Regions from separate parts of the Homo sapiens genome. Here region 1 is linked to region 2. Evidence: promoter capture Hi-C in human tissues and cell types (Jung and others, 2019). All regions are on one chromosome and are shown on one strand. Each heading gives the region's core, a stretch centred on a gene start or on the middle of the fragment in contact. The rest is flanking DNA. Distances are from core to core; before and after follow the strand shown.

Region 1 (7,068 bases), core at 4,547-7,046, 300 kb after region 2:
AAAGCACAAAGGATCTGATAGCAAGGCTGGCGAAATGAGGGAAGTCAAGACTGTGCAGTAATCAATGAATAAAGAAAATTTTTTTAAACATATGATGTTTCAACAAATGATGAACAATTGGATATCTTTTTTTTTTAATTGTGACAGAGTCTCAGTCTGTTGCCCAGGCTGGAGTGCAGCGGTGTGATCTCAGCACACAAAAACCTCCACCTCCTGGGTTCAAGCGATTCTCATACCTCAGCCTCTCAAGTAGCTGGGATTACAGGCATGTACCACCATGCCCAGCTAATTTTTTTATTTTTAGTAGAGACAGGATTTCACCATGTTGGCCAGGCTGGTCTCGAACTCCTGACCTCAAGTGATCTGCCTGCCCTGGCTTCCCAAAGTGCTGGGATTACAGGCGTGACCCACCACACCTGGCCAGATACCTTTTTTTTTCTTTTGTTTTCTGATACAGTCTCTCTCTCTCTCTCTCTCTCTCTCTCTCTCTCTCTCTCTCTCTCTCTCTCTCTCTCTCTCTCTCTCCCAGGCTGCAGTGCAGAGAAATAATCACGGCTCACTGCACCTCAGCCTCTGGAGTAGCTTGGACTACAGGCATGTGCCACCTCACCCGGCTAATTTTTAAATGCTTTCTAGAGATGGGAGTCTCACTTTGTTGCCCAAGCTGGTCTTAAACTCCTGGGCTCAAGTGGTCCTCCTGCCTCAACCTCCCAAAGTGCTGGGATTACAGATGTGAGCCACCGCACCCAGCTTGGACATCTACTTTTTAAAAAATGAACCTCAACCTAAACCTTATATCTTATAACAAAATTAACTTGCTCCTTTCAGACTAGAGAAGGGACAAAAAATAATAATAATTAACCAGCAGGCTGGAGATGGTGGCTCACGCCTGTAACCCTAGCACTTTTGAAGGTCAAGTTGGGCAGATCTCTTGAGCCCAGGAGTTAGAGACCAGCCTGGGCAACGAAGCAAGACTCCATTGCTACAAAAATTACAAACATTAACCGGGTGTGGTGGTGCATGCCTGTAGTCCCAGTTATTTAGTTAATCCTGAGGTGGGAGGACTGCCTGAGCCTGGGAGGGGGTTGAGGCTGCAGTGATCTGTGATTGTGCCACTGCATTTCAGCCTGGGCAACAGAGCGAGATCCTGTCTCAAAATATAATAATAATAATAATAATAATAATAATAATAATAATAATAAGCTGGTAATGGATCATAGATTTAAATGTAAAATGTAAAGACAGACAGCAACCGGGTCTGTATCAGGCGGGATTCTCAGCCTGGCCCCACTGTTGGATGATGCAGAAGCAGTGAGGATTGTGGAAGCTCAAGGGACAAGTCAAGTGGGCACCTTCTGTGGTCACAGCTGACCTGTCCCCGAGTTTAAGGGTGGAAAGGAGGGAAGTAACATTTTTCAAGCATGATGTCTGCACTGCAATCCCCATTAAGTGAGTTCTTAGCTTCATCCCATTTAATCCTAAAACAAATCAATACGCTTTTGGAGGCTGGAGTTTTTATCCTCGCTCTATGAGTGAGAAAATTCAGTTCAGAGAGGTTAAGGAACTTCTCTGGGGTCACACAGTAAATGGGGCAGAAGGGTTTGGACCCAAGGTACTCACCTCTGCTGGAGGCAGACAGGGGACAGTCAGGCCAAGCTGATGACTCTGGACCTGCATTGTTGCCCGTCTGGTTTTGGGCCCTTGGTCAAGGTGGGTGTGGGGTATGGGAGCCTTTCTCCCAAGATTGTGGGGAGATCTGAGGCCTCCATTTTCCCAAGAGCCTCAGCTCACTCCCCTTCATGATGAGGCCCTTACTGGGTGGCTCTTCTTGGGAACTCACAAACCCATCCCCAACAGTGCGGCACCATCCCAGGCCTGACAAGGGTGGACGCCTTGATGTCCTGGTGTCATACTCTCCTGGAGGTATAGAAATAAGCAGGAGGACACGCACCAGGCCTGGGCTGATCTGTGTCCATCCCTGCCTCCAGTGACTCGCCAGCCCCTGCAGCTGTTTGACCTTCTTGAAACTCCTTCTGCATTCTCACCCCCACACCATTGCCGAGGCTGGAGCCTCCTTCCAGGATCCCCTCTCCACCTCCTCTCCCTTCTTCAAATGCGGCCGCTGTTTCAGCATTCAGCTCAAGTCATGCCTTTCCCAGCAGCTCCCATGAGCTCTCCCTCTTCTGAACTCCTGCAGCTGATAAATACAGTCTAGTCCTCCATGGTCTCAACAGCTAGTGTTTGCCAGCGTAGCCTTCTAGAGAGGCATGGACCTTCTAGAGCCTTCTAGATGCTCCTAGAGAGGCATCTCCAGCAGTCTCATGGCCAAACAGCTTGTGAATGTTCCAAGGGTAGGAGTTGAGTTTTAAGCCCCTCTCTGCTTGGCACAGGGAAAGCTGGTTCCAGCCCATGGCTCAGGATCTGACAGCCCACTCTGCCACTTCCTTGCTGCATGCTCAGTGTCTGGCACAAAAATATGCTCGATTAAGGGCAATAGTTGCTGCTGTCATTTTCACGGCTATTATTTTTATTATCAAGATGATTTCTGGAACTGTGTATGGAAAGTGAGAGGGTTCAAAGTCCTCCTCCAGTGGGAAGCCTCCCCTCCTGGCCACTCCACCCTCCCACCCCCGAGGCATGCCCACCTTTCCCTCCTGGTGGCCTGCTGCTCCCAGCTGCTCCTCCAGTCTCCCCAGCAGGGCTGCAGGCTCCTGTAGGGGATCGTGGTAGGCGGGGACAGAGGTGGGCTTTTAATTCTTCCCCACTCAGACCCTCAGTGTGACAGTGAAGGGGCCCCAGGGATGCCCAGATCAGCAGAGGGGAGTGGGTACTTGCCTAATGGAGGCCCAGGGCCCAGGCCTCCTGCAGTCTGATTAGATTTTATGATCCCAAAGGAGCTGCCCTGGATCCCTGCTCACCTTCAAGCCTCATCAGCACCAGGCCCTGTCCATCGTGAATTTCAAACTCAGCCTCTGCTGACACAACCTTCCCCCTCCACCACCCCCACCGCGTATCACACCCCACCCAACCATCCTGCCTTGGCACCAGACCGCCACCCTCTCCAACCTAGGTGCTGCCAGGCCTCTCTGCCCCTCCCAGCTCTCCTCCCTGCCCACATTTGCCCAATAGCTGGGGATCCATTTCTAGAACACAAATCTGCTTGTACGTACCCCCCACCCCCACCCCCGGACTCCTGCTACTTTCAGCAGGGGGTGGGGGGCTTCTCTAGACTTTCATGCATAATTATCACCTGGGGAACCTCTTAAAGATATAGCGCCTTATCTTCATCGGGAGCATGGTCTCCTGGGTCTGCCGCAGGGCCCAGGAATCTGCATTTCATGAGTCTCCCTTCAGACTGGGGGACTGTGGCCCCCGGTCCAGTTCACGTTCTGGTGGAAAACTCTGAAGAGACAAGAATATAAATGAGAGCCTGGCCTCCCCAGGCCCGTGAAGGCATTTCTGAGGGAAGGAGGACAGAAGAGCCCTTCAGCCAGCAGCGTCCTGGCTGCTTCTCTCACTTGGGAACACCTAGACCTTTGCTACCTGGACCTTCATTTCTGCTCTTGCTCCAGGGCCCACAGATGTCAGGGGTGGGCCTGCTTGGACCCAGCTCTTTAATCTCTCACCTACAGGATAAGGTGCAGGGCGCTCAGCTTGGTGAGTGAAGCCCCTTGGAGCCTGGCTCCCTCTTCGGCTCCAACTGAACGCCTCCCTCCTCCGCATCACCCCCCAGCACCCAGCCTATGGTATTTGAATGTTCTGGGCACATTCTCGTCTCCGTGCCTTTGCACATGTTCCCTCTGCCTAGAACATTCTTCTTCCATGTATCTCCTTGGGGAACTCCTATTCATCCCTCAAAACCCAACTTAGATTTCATGATTCTGAGGGCCCCTTTGTGCCCTCACCCCCTTCTCTGACTGCATCGACCCTGCTTTGTTATAATTATTTCATCCTGCTTCTTCTCTGCAGGCAGCTTATCAGCTTTTCCATGACGGTTTTAGAATGAGACCTGGCTTTGCCTCAGGCCCTTGTACTTTCCAGGGCTCCGAACTTGGGTGTTATCCACCCACCTGTCTACAACCTTTTTGTTCGTGATGAAATGGGGGCTTAAAGTATTGCCCACCGCATTGTGTTGCCTTGACATTGAGACAAGATCTCACATGCGAAGGGTTCAGCACAGTGTGTGGCGTAGAGTCACAGCACTGGTTCGTTTTTTTCTTTTTCTTTTTTTTTTTGATACGGAGTCTCACTCTGTTGCCCCGGTTGGGGTGCAGTGGCATGATCTCAGCTCACTGCAACCTCCGTCTCCTGGGTTCAAGCAATTCTCCTGCCTCAGCCTCCCAAATAGCTGGGACTACAGGCGCGAGTCACCATGCCTCGGCTAATTTTTGTATTTTTAGTAGAGACCGGTTTTCACCATGTTGGCCATGGTGGTCTCAAACTCCTGACCTCAAGTGACCCGCCCATCTCAGCCTCCCTAGATGTTAGGATTACAGGCATGAGCCACCGCACCTGGCCAGTACTGGTTATTTCAACGTCTTTCCTGTGGGCAGGCAAGCTCTGTGAGGCCACGGAGGGCATTTTCTCCATCTTGGGATTCATGGAGTCCAGGGTGGGGCATTTCCCAGGGTGGACCCCAGGTGGACAGGTCTGTGGGTGGCTTGGGCTCTGCTGCTCTGCCCCTTCCCTGGAAACTGTCCCCACTCTGAGTGCCTTTGCTGGCTGTGCTGTGGGGATAGGGCCTCATGTCCCTCGAGGGGGCTTCCATCTGGAGTGAACGGAGCCAGTGGGGCCCACAGGGTGAATGGGCAGTGCTGGGGGCAGATGTACAGTCAGGAGAGAGGGACTTTGACCTTCAGAACACCATCGGCAGAACTTGGGGCCTTTCCAAGGGGGGCTGCCTCCATTCCATCCCCCAAGGGCCTGCCCAGCATGGGGGGAGCAGGGCAGGGTGCCCGGGAGGCATGAGGACTGGCCCCAGCTGCAGCACTCGGCGAGAATCTCTTGAACTCTCGGCTGCACCGAAAGGCGAAGGCAGCGGGGCCCTGGAGATGGTCTCCATGACAACCGCTGCCACTCACTCCGCATCTTGGATGTAAATTAGTTACAATTTTATTAGTGTGCAGAATTTCAAGAGTCCAGATCCTGTCTTGGAAGGGAAAAGGAAGGTGGGGGGACAGAGGAGTTTCCGAAGCTTCACATCCCCACAGGGACCCCAAATCCAAGGTGGATCCATGGACAGTGAATTGGGCCATGCACCCTAATTCATCAGCCCTGGTCAGGCTCTCTGGAGAGAAGGAAACACATAGGACTGTTCCCGCTCTTCTGGCCACCTCCTCACAGCAGCCTGGGAGCACCCCCTCCCCAGTCGACAGGAAAGCAGCTGAAGGCCATGGGGGTCATTAGCTGGCACAAGGGCACCCACTCACCAGGAGCCAGACACTTGCTCTCCCACTCTGCCCAGCAGCCCTCCAAGGTTGGTTAAGGTTCACTGAAACACTGCTGGGCACCACATAACCAGGTGAGGACATCCCCAGGGGTTTGGGCGTCTGGACAAACACCAGGCCCTGCTTGCCAAGAGTCAGCATGTAGAGCTACTATCCTGTGGCTGGAGGTCGTGTGTTTGTCCCCTCTAGCACTGGGCAAATGAGGCTGGTGACACCCGAGTCACAGCAGCGTTTGATGCTCTGAATCATGTGTGCATATACACATGCACACACAGATTTTTCTCTAAGGAGGGAATAAAGGGACAGATTTGTCTCTTCCCTAAGGCCATTGTTAAAATTAGTTGTGTTCTCCCAAGGCGCAGCCCACCGTGTGTGTCCCTGAGGTGGCTCTACTCCCTCTGCTTTGGGGTGAGCCACAAGAGAGCAGGCCCCAATGAGGTCATGGGCCAGCAAGGCCACCAGAACTCCCCATCTGTGGCTGGCACTGAGGTGGACACTGAGAAGTTGGTACTGCAGAGGCAGGGCCAGGTGCAGGAGGAGAGGGTGTGGAGTGTATCAGGGCAGGTCCCACACAGGTGTGAGTCCCTGGGCCAACAAAGAGGAGAAAAAGCAGGCCTGGCTGAGAGAACAGCCTATATTAAGGCTTAGAGGCATGACAAAGCCTGAGTGAGGGCTTGGGGCATGGGAGGATAAGAGAATGAACAAGGAATAGAGGAGAATGAATGGAGACTGAAGGGAGATTGATGGGAAGGTGGATGGGAGGATGGATGGAAAAATTGTTGCAAGGGTGGATGGGAGGATGGATGAAAGGATGGATGGGAGGATGGGGGAGAATGGATGGAAAGATGGATGAGAGGATTGATGAGAAGATGGATGGGAAGATGGCTGAAGGATGGATGGAAAAATGGATGCAAGGATGAATGAAAGATGAATGGGTGGATGGATAGAAAGATGGATGGGAGGATGGGTGGGAGGAAAGATGAAGGATAGATGGGAAAATGGATGGGAGGATGCATGGGAGGATGGACAGAAGAATGGATAGGAGAATGGATGGAAAGATGGATGGGAGGATGGATGGGAGGATAGATGGAGGATAGATGGGAAGGTGGAGGGAGGTAGAAGAGAGGATGGATGGAGAATGAATGGAAGATTGATGGGAGAATGGATGAGAGGGTGGACAGAGGAATGGATGGAAGATAAATGGAAAGATGGATGGGAGCATTGATGAGAAAATTGACGAAAGGATGGATGAAAGGATGGATGGGAGGATAGAGGGAGAATGGATGAATGGGAGGATGGATGGAAAAATGAATGGGAGGATGAATGAAGGATGGATGGGTGGATGGATGGAAAGATGGATGGGAGGATGGATGACAGGATGAATGAAGGATAGATGAGAAAATGGATGGTAGAATGCATGGGAGGATAGACAGAGGAATGAATGGGAGGATGGATGAAAAGATGGATGGGAGGATGGATGTAAAGATGAATAAGAGGATGGATGACGGGATGAATGAAGGATAGATGGGAAAATGGATGGGAAGATGCAGGAGAGGATAGACAGAGGAATGAATGGGAGGATGGATGAAAAAGATGGATGGGAGGATGAATGAAGAATAAG
Region 2 (6,601 bases), core at 3,515-6,014:
AAAAAAAAAAAAATTTCTGAGCAGGGGAGTGACTTGAAGAGATCAAGGTGGGGAGAGGCTGAAGGCAAGGAGGCCAGTGAGGAGGCTGGGCCAGAACTGGGAATGTGGTGGAAACATGGGGAGAAGTGGCTGGATTCCAGAGGTAGTTAGGAAGGACTTAGTGTCCAAGAGATGAAGAGAAGAGTCAAGGCTGACCCCCCATCACTAGGTGGAAGATGGAGTCATCTGCTGAGATTAGGGACTCAGGAGGACATGCAGGTTTGGGGAAGATGTATGCTCAGTTTGAACCTGCAGGAACCTGTGGGCCAACCCAATGGAGACAAACTTGTGGCAGAAAGTGCCACCTAGTGGATGCCTGGCTGAAGCCCCTCAGTGGGCAGCTGTTAGCCAGTACCCACTCAGACAGGGACAGTCTCCACCCAGAGAGGATACATACCAAGGTCGGGGCATTGATGATAGAGAGGTTATAGCCAAACTGAAAAGTCCCACCAATGCCGGCAGCGCAGATGGTCAGGAGCAGGATCCTGCCCTGAATCTGAGGAGAGAGGAGAGAACACAGAGTGACCAACAACAGCCTCCACCCCCTCCCTGGACCAGAGCTGCCAATCACAGCATTGCAATTTATTTGAATCAGGCAGTGATGTCTCCACTTTGCAGATGAGGAAAGTGAGGCACAGAGAGGAGTTACCTGGGTCACATGGCTGGCAGGTAGCAGAGGAACCCAAGCCTCCTGTTCTGAGTCCAGGACCCCACTTTACCCTCACCCCACCCATAGCCCCAACATTTCCCTGAGCTGGAGAGCGGTTCCCATCCCTCCTTGTTGGGCTGCCCCTGAGCACGTCTGCTGTGTTTGGGGAAGACAGTCCCCTGAGCTGGGGCCCCAGTAGAGTAAGGCTCTGCCTCCAGCAGGACAGGAGCCTCTGACTTGCCCCAGGAAAACCTTCTCCAACAGAGTGGCCAGGCTCCAGGAATCTGGGCTGAGCCACCTCTCTTACCTCCCACCAGCATGTTCTGCAATGAGGCTAAGAGAAGATGCCACATGGACCTGCAGGTGCAAGGACTTGGGGACATATGAGTAGTAGAGAGGCAGCATAAATGGCCCAGGTGCCTGGTCCCTATCCCAGCTCTCCCCTTCCTTTCTCATCCTAAGTGACTTCCTTACCTGGACCTGCAGATAATGAAGCCTACTTCTAGGCTGGGTACCCATGAGTCATGCACACTTGGTACACAAAAGGACAGTGAAACACCCTTAGAGATGGAGGGAGAATTCCCCAAGGCATCCCTGATGCCTCATCCTTTGTAGTTGGGATAGTTGGGATTTTCTTTTTTTTTTTTTTTTTTTTTTTTTGAGACTGAGTCTTGGCCTGGCGCAGTGGCTCACACCTGTAATCCCAGCACTTTGGGAGGCCGAGGCGGGTGGATCACAATGTCAGAAGTTTAAGACCAACCTGGCCAAGATGGTGAAACCCCATCTCTACTAAAAACACAAAAATTGGCCGGGCGCAGTGGCTCATGCCTGTAATCCCAGCACTTTGGGAGGCCGAGGCGGGCGGATCACGAGGTCAGGAGATTGAGACCATCCTGGCTAACACGGTGAAATCCCGCCTCTACTAAAAATACAAAAAATTAGCCAGGCGTGGTGGCGGGCACCTGTAGACCCAGCTACTGGGGAGGCTGAGGCAGGAGAATGGTGTGAACCCGGGAGGCGGAGCTAGCAGTGAGCCGAGATAGCGCCACTGCACTCCAGCCTGGGCGACAGAGCGAGACTCCGTCTCAAAAAAAAAAAAAAATTAGCTGGGCGTGTTGGCAGGCGTCTGTAATCCCAGCTACTCGGGAGGCTGAGGCAGAGAACTGCTTGAACCCAGGAGGTGGAGGTTGAGTGAGACTCCGTCTCAAAAAAAAAAAAGAGACGGAGTTTTGCTCTGCCGCCCAGGCTGGAGTGCAATGGCGCAATCTTGGCTCACTGCAATCTCCGCCTCCCAGTTCAAGCGATTCTCCTGCCTCAGCCTCCCGAGTAGCTGGGATTGCAGGCATGCACCACCACACCCAGCTAATTTTTGTATTTTTAGTAGAGACTCCTGACCTCAAGTGATCTGCCCACCTCAGCCTCCAAATTGCTGAGATTACAGACGTGAGCCACCGCACCCGACCTGTAGTTGAGGTCGTCTTAGGGATTCACAGAAGTATTTATCTTTCTCCTTTGGTGATTTTCTGTTTTGTTTTTTGAGACAAGGTCTCATTTTGTCACCCAGGCTGGAGTGCAGTGTCGCAATCTTGATTCACTGCAGCCTCAACCTCCTGGGCTCAAGCGATCCTCCCACCTCAGCCCCCCAAGTAGCTGGGACTACAGGCACACACCATCATGCTGGGCTAATTTTTTTGTAGAGATGGGATTTCACCATATTGCCCAGGCTGGTTTCAAACTCCTGAGCTCAAGCGATACACTCGCCTTGGCCTCCCAAAGTGGTAGGATTACAGGCGTGAGCCACCATACCCAGCCCACTCTTTTGTGATTTTTAATTACAAAATGACACGTTTGTTAAGATTTTTGAAAATTCAGTATATACTGAAAGTTCTCCACTCCTCCAAAGGCACAACAATTAACTCCTTCCCTCAGGTATTTTCCTAGATATTTGCAAAGTAGTTGACTTTACAAAAATTGAATCGTTGATATCTTCCCCCAAAAAATACTGCCTTTCTTGTTCTGGCAAATTGTTCTGTAGAATTAAATGTATTATTTTTGAAAACTTTGATACAATTTTCATGACAGAAGGATGTTTGGCTAAGGTTTTCTGAAGTTTCCAGAACCTACGGACTATTTATTCATTTATTAGTCAAATACTGAGTGTTGGCCGGATGTCGTGGCCCACACCTGCAATCCCTGCACTTTGGGAGGCCGAGGTGGGCAGACCACTTGAGGTCAGGAGTTCGAGACCAGCCTGGCCAACATGGTAAAACCCTGTCTCTACTAAAAATACAAAAATTAGCCGGGCTTGGTGGTGGGCACCTGTAATCCCAGCTACTCAGAAGGCTGAGGCAGAATTGCTTGAATCCGGGAGGGAGGCGGAGGTTGCAGTAAGCCCAGATCGCGCCACTGCCCTCCTGCCTGGGCAACAGAGTGAGACTCCATCTCAAAAAAAAAAAAATGCTGAATGTTTATCTCAGCCAGGAAGTGTGCTGGGGGGCAAGATACAGCTGGGAAAGAGACAGCTGTGCTTTCACCATTCAGTGAGATACTGCACTGGAGGCTGGGGGAGCAGAGGAAGTGGCTCTGGAGGGCAGAATCCTGCTGAAGGCCTTGCCATAGGTCTGGAGACAGGTTGGTGACAGGGGCCCTGGCTGCCCATAGTTCCAATAAGGCCTAAGTAACTTTCTCTAAGGCTGGAAGCCTTAGGAAGAAGCCAGGTGAGAAACCTGGCATCTGGTCCCATTGAGGCCAAATTACAGCTCCACGGGGGCCGCATGGAAGTGAGAGCTCCCTTAAGACAGCAGATGTGAAGGAAGCAGCGAACACAGTGCTTGATGGCAGCTGAGCTCATGTAGCAGGAGATATTGACAGGTCTCTAAGACTACAGGAAATCGTTGAATTCAATGAGATCATGCATGGAGATTGCCTATACCGTGCCTGGTCATGGTAAGCATTCAGACATTAGCTACGATAGGGACCATTAATTCAGCAAACAAAGATTTATTGCCTCCCTATTATGGTCAATAATCCTACTGTTCTAGGTGTTGGGATACAGCAGTGAACAACAGACAAAATCCATGAGCTGTCAGAGCTTTCCTTCCAGCAGAGAAAGACAAGCAATCGCAAAATGAACAAGCAAAATATATAGTACATCAGCTGGTGCTACAGAGACTTAAAGCAGTGAAGGGGCGTAGGAAGTGTTTGGACCAGGTGGTGCTATTTTATTTTATTTTATTTTATTTTTATTTTTTAGAGACAAGGTCTCGCTACGTCGCCCACGCTGGAGTGCAGTGGTGAGATCCTATTAGATCCCTGCAGCTTCGAACTCCTGGGCGATCCTCCCACCTTAGTTGGTGCTATTTTAAATAAGGCTGTCAAGGAATACAAGTGCAAATCAAGACAAAGGAGGTGAGGGAATGTGCCATGCAAATACCTAAAGAAATCAGTCCAGATTGGGAAGGAACCCCTAGAAGCGGTGGGCAGTGCAGTGCGGGCGCTCTCCTCTGGCTGCGCCCTTTCCCTCTGTGAGGCAGGACGTCAGGTCAGAGCTGAGGGAGCATGAGGAGGAAAGAGGCGGGGGTGGGAAACAGTCTCGGGAGGGGGCGAGCAGTCAGGATTGCAGCGCTCGGAGGGCTTACTGCCTCTGAGGTCAGGGCTGATCGGCAGAGGATTTAGCATCTCTGGGGGCTGGGATGCCAGGGTCCAGCAACCTTGCTCTGGCCCACAGGCCGACCCTGGGCGTAAACACCTGCCTATGCACATCTGAGCCTAGCACCTAACGCCACTGTACATACAAGCACGATATTTTTGAACATTTGACGACTTAGTTAAGCCTCCCAGGTGGCTGCACCTGCGCAGTTCACTCAGGTCCGCAATCCCTCATCTGAAACGCCTGGTCTGGGCAAGTATGAGAATTCATACCATTCTAGATCGCAGGAGGGCGTGGAGCATTCGAAAGAGGGGCCTGAGCGGAGGTCTTGCTGTCCCAGGGAGACCCCGGCTGCCATTAGCAAGCGGTGAGCCGGCAGCCTGTGCGCGGAGGGAAGGGCAGCGCGCAGCGCCCAGTGGTGAAAGAGGCGCTAGCGCACGCGCAGTGAGCGTTTGAGAGGAGCAAACCCGTCGAGACGAAGCTGTAGCGCAAGCGCAGTGGGTATTGAGAGCGGCCGCACCAGCTGAGGGTTCGCGCAACGCTAAACGATGGCCGGGACTAAGGCCTGAGACTCAAGCTCAGGCGCAGTGAAGCGCAGAGCCGCTAGAGTGTCGCGGAGGGCGCCTGAGGCGCATGCGCGGACTCAGCGTTTTTAAGAAGGGCTGGGGGTGCTGGGGAGTTCGCCCCAGCGTGTTGGGGGGGAGTCGCCGCCGCGGGGGGGGGGTTTGGGGTCACCGCCGCGGGGTTTGTCGCCGCCGCTGGGAGCTCACCTGCGTCCGAGGCCGTAAGGACGGCTCCAGTTCATCCTCCATCCGCCTCTGCCGCAGCACTGAGGCTGAAAAGCCGCTCACTCCTTACTCGGCTAAGCCCCAAGCTCATCTCTGCAGGCCGGAAGGGAGCTCTGGTCCAAGGTCATCTCGGCCAAGCCCCTGCATTCGCCCTCGCAAGTGCCAGCAAGCGACTCTGGTCGCCGCGCTCCCAAGTCCTCCCCCGAAATTCCGGCTCTGGCCCCTCGTCCCCCTCCTTTGCTACAGTCTCTGGACTAAATGTCTGCGGGTCTCTGTCTCTCGCTGGTCTGACCTCAGCCGCAACCCTGCGCGATTCCCTGCGCCGGTCGCCACTGCCGGCCGCCAGAACCTCGGAGGCCACTGCCCCTGGGCGTTCTCCGGAGGGCCAAGCCCTTGGTTGTGCACATCTATGCACGCCCCACCTACACCCCCCCCCCCCCACACACACACACTTTGGTTCAGGTATCCCCGACCTTTCCCCAGAGGACGGGAAAATTAGGAAAGACCGAAAGATAGACCCACCAGTCTTCGGAGCGCTCTCATCTGTGCGTCCTGGGCAGAGCGAGAGACTTGGCGGAATGCGGGTAGGAGAACCGGTCTCGGGTTGCCGCCAGGGGATCCATTGCGTGAGAGGCAGGTCCGACTTATGCTGGGGGCACTTGGAGTTGAGGAACCACAGAGTCCACTGAACCGGATTAATCTTTTATCCCTCAGGGCTTCTCAGGCCCTGCATGGAGGAATCCAGGAGCTGGACAAAGACCAACTGAAACTAGACTTGCCAAAGATGCTATTTGTGGTCACAGAAACATAGAGCTGGACATGACCTTAAGAAGTCACCTGAGCAGACACTGTGATGGGCACTGTAGTAGCTCTATTGCTCAGACTTGGTTTTTGTTTGACTTTTGCTGCTCTGAACTTTAATTCCTAAAAACACTGCATTTTTAAGGAAAAACACAAAATATTAGCAGTTATAATAAATAGGTATTTTATTGCATGCTTTTCGTGCATCTATTAAGATGATCATATGGGTATTCTCCTTTAATCTGTTAATGAGATCAGTTACATCAATAAACTTTCTAATGGTAAACCATTCTTGAATTCTTGGGGTAGACGCAACTTGGTCATAATATTATTGTTATTAATACATTGTTAGTTTCAACTGCTGATATTTTATTTTGATAGGTTAATTTTTTTCTTTTTTTTTTTTAATTTATTTATTTTTTTTTTATTGATCATTCTTGGGTGTTTCTCGCAGAGGGGGATTTGGCAGGGTCATAGGACAATAGTGGAGGGAAGGTCAGCAGATAAACAAGTGAACAAAGGTCTCTGGTTTTCCTAGGCAGAGGACCCTGCGGCCTTGGCCTTCCGCAGTGTTTGTGTCCCTGGGTACTTAAGATTAGGGAGTGGTGATGACTCTTAACGAGCATGCTGCCTTCAAGCATCTGTTTAACAAAGCACATCTTGCACCGCCCTTAA

The links. The method cuts DNA at HindIII sites, captures the fragments that hold promoters and counts their contacts. A contact is called where the count stands out against the background at its distance.
Region 1: a fragment that was not itself captured here is called in contact with the fragment with the promoter of SLC2A11 in region 2 in 2 of the 25 tissues and cell types used here (mesendoderm cells and spleen).

What each region holds. Positions count from the first base shown.
Region 1 is chr22:23,552,106-23,559,173 of GRCh38, reverse strand. No RefSeq gene overlaps it. Among named protein-coding and RNA genes, the nearest start is that of PCAT14, 18 kb to the right of the region's middle. The HindIII fragment of the contact is 7,531 bases long and covers 2,031-7,068 here.
Region 2 is chr22:23,856,038-23,862,638 of GRCh38, reverse strand. SLC2A11 (solute carrier family 2 member 11) reads right to left here and starts at 4,764. Exons shown (of 12, transcript NM_001024939.4): 1 at 4,610-4,764; 2 at 437-535. The coding sequence starts at 4,639. The HindIII fragment of the contact is 17,543 bases long and covers 751-6,601 here.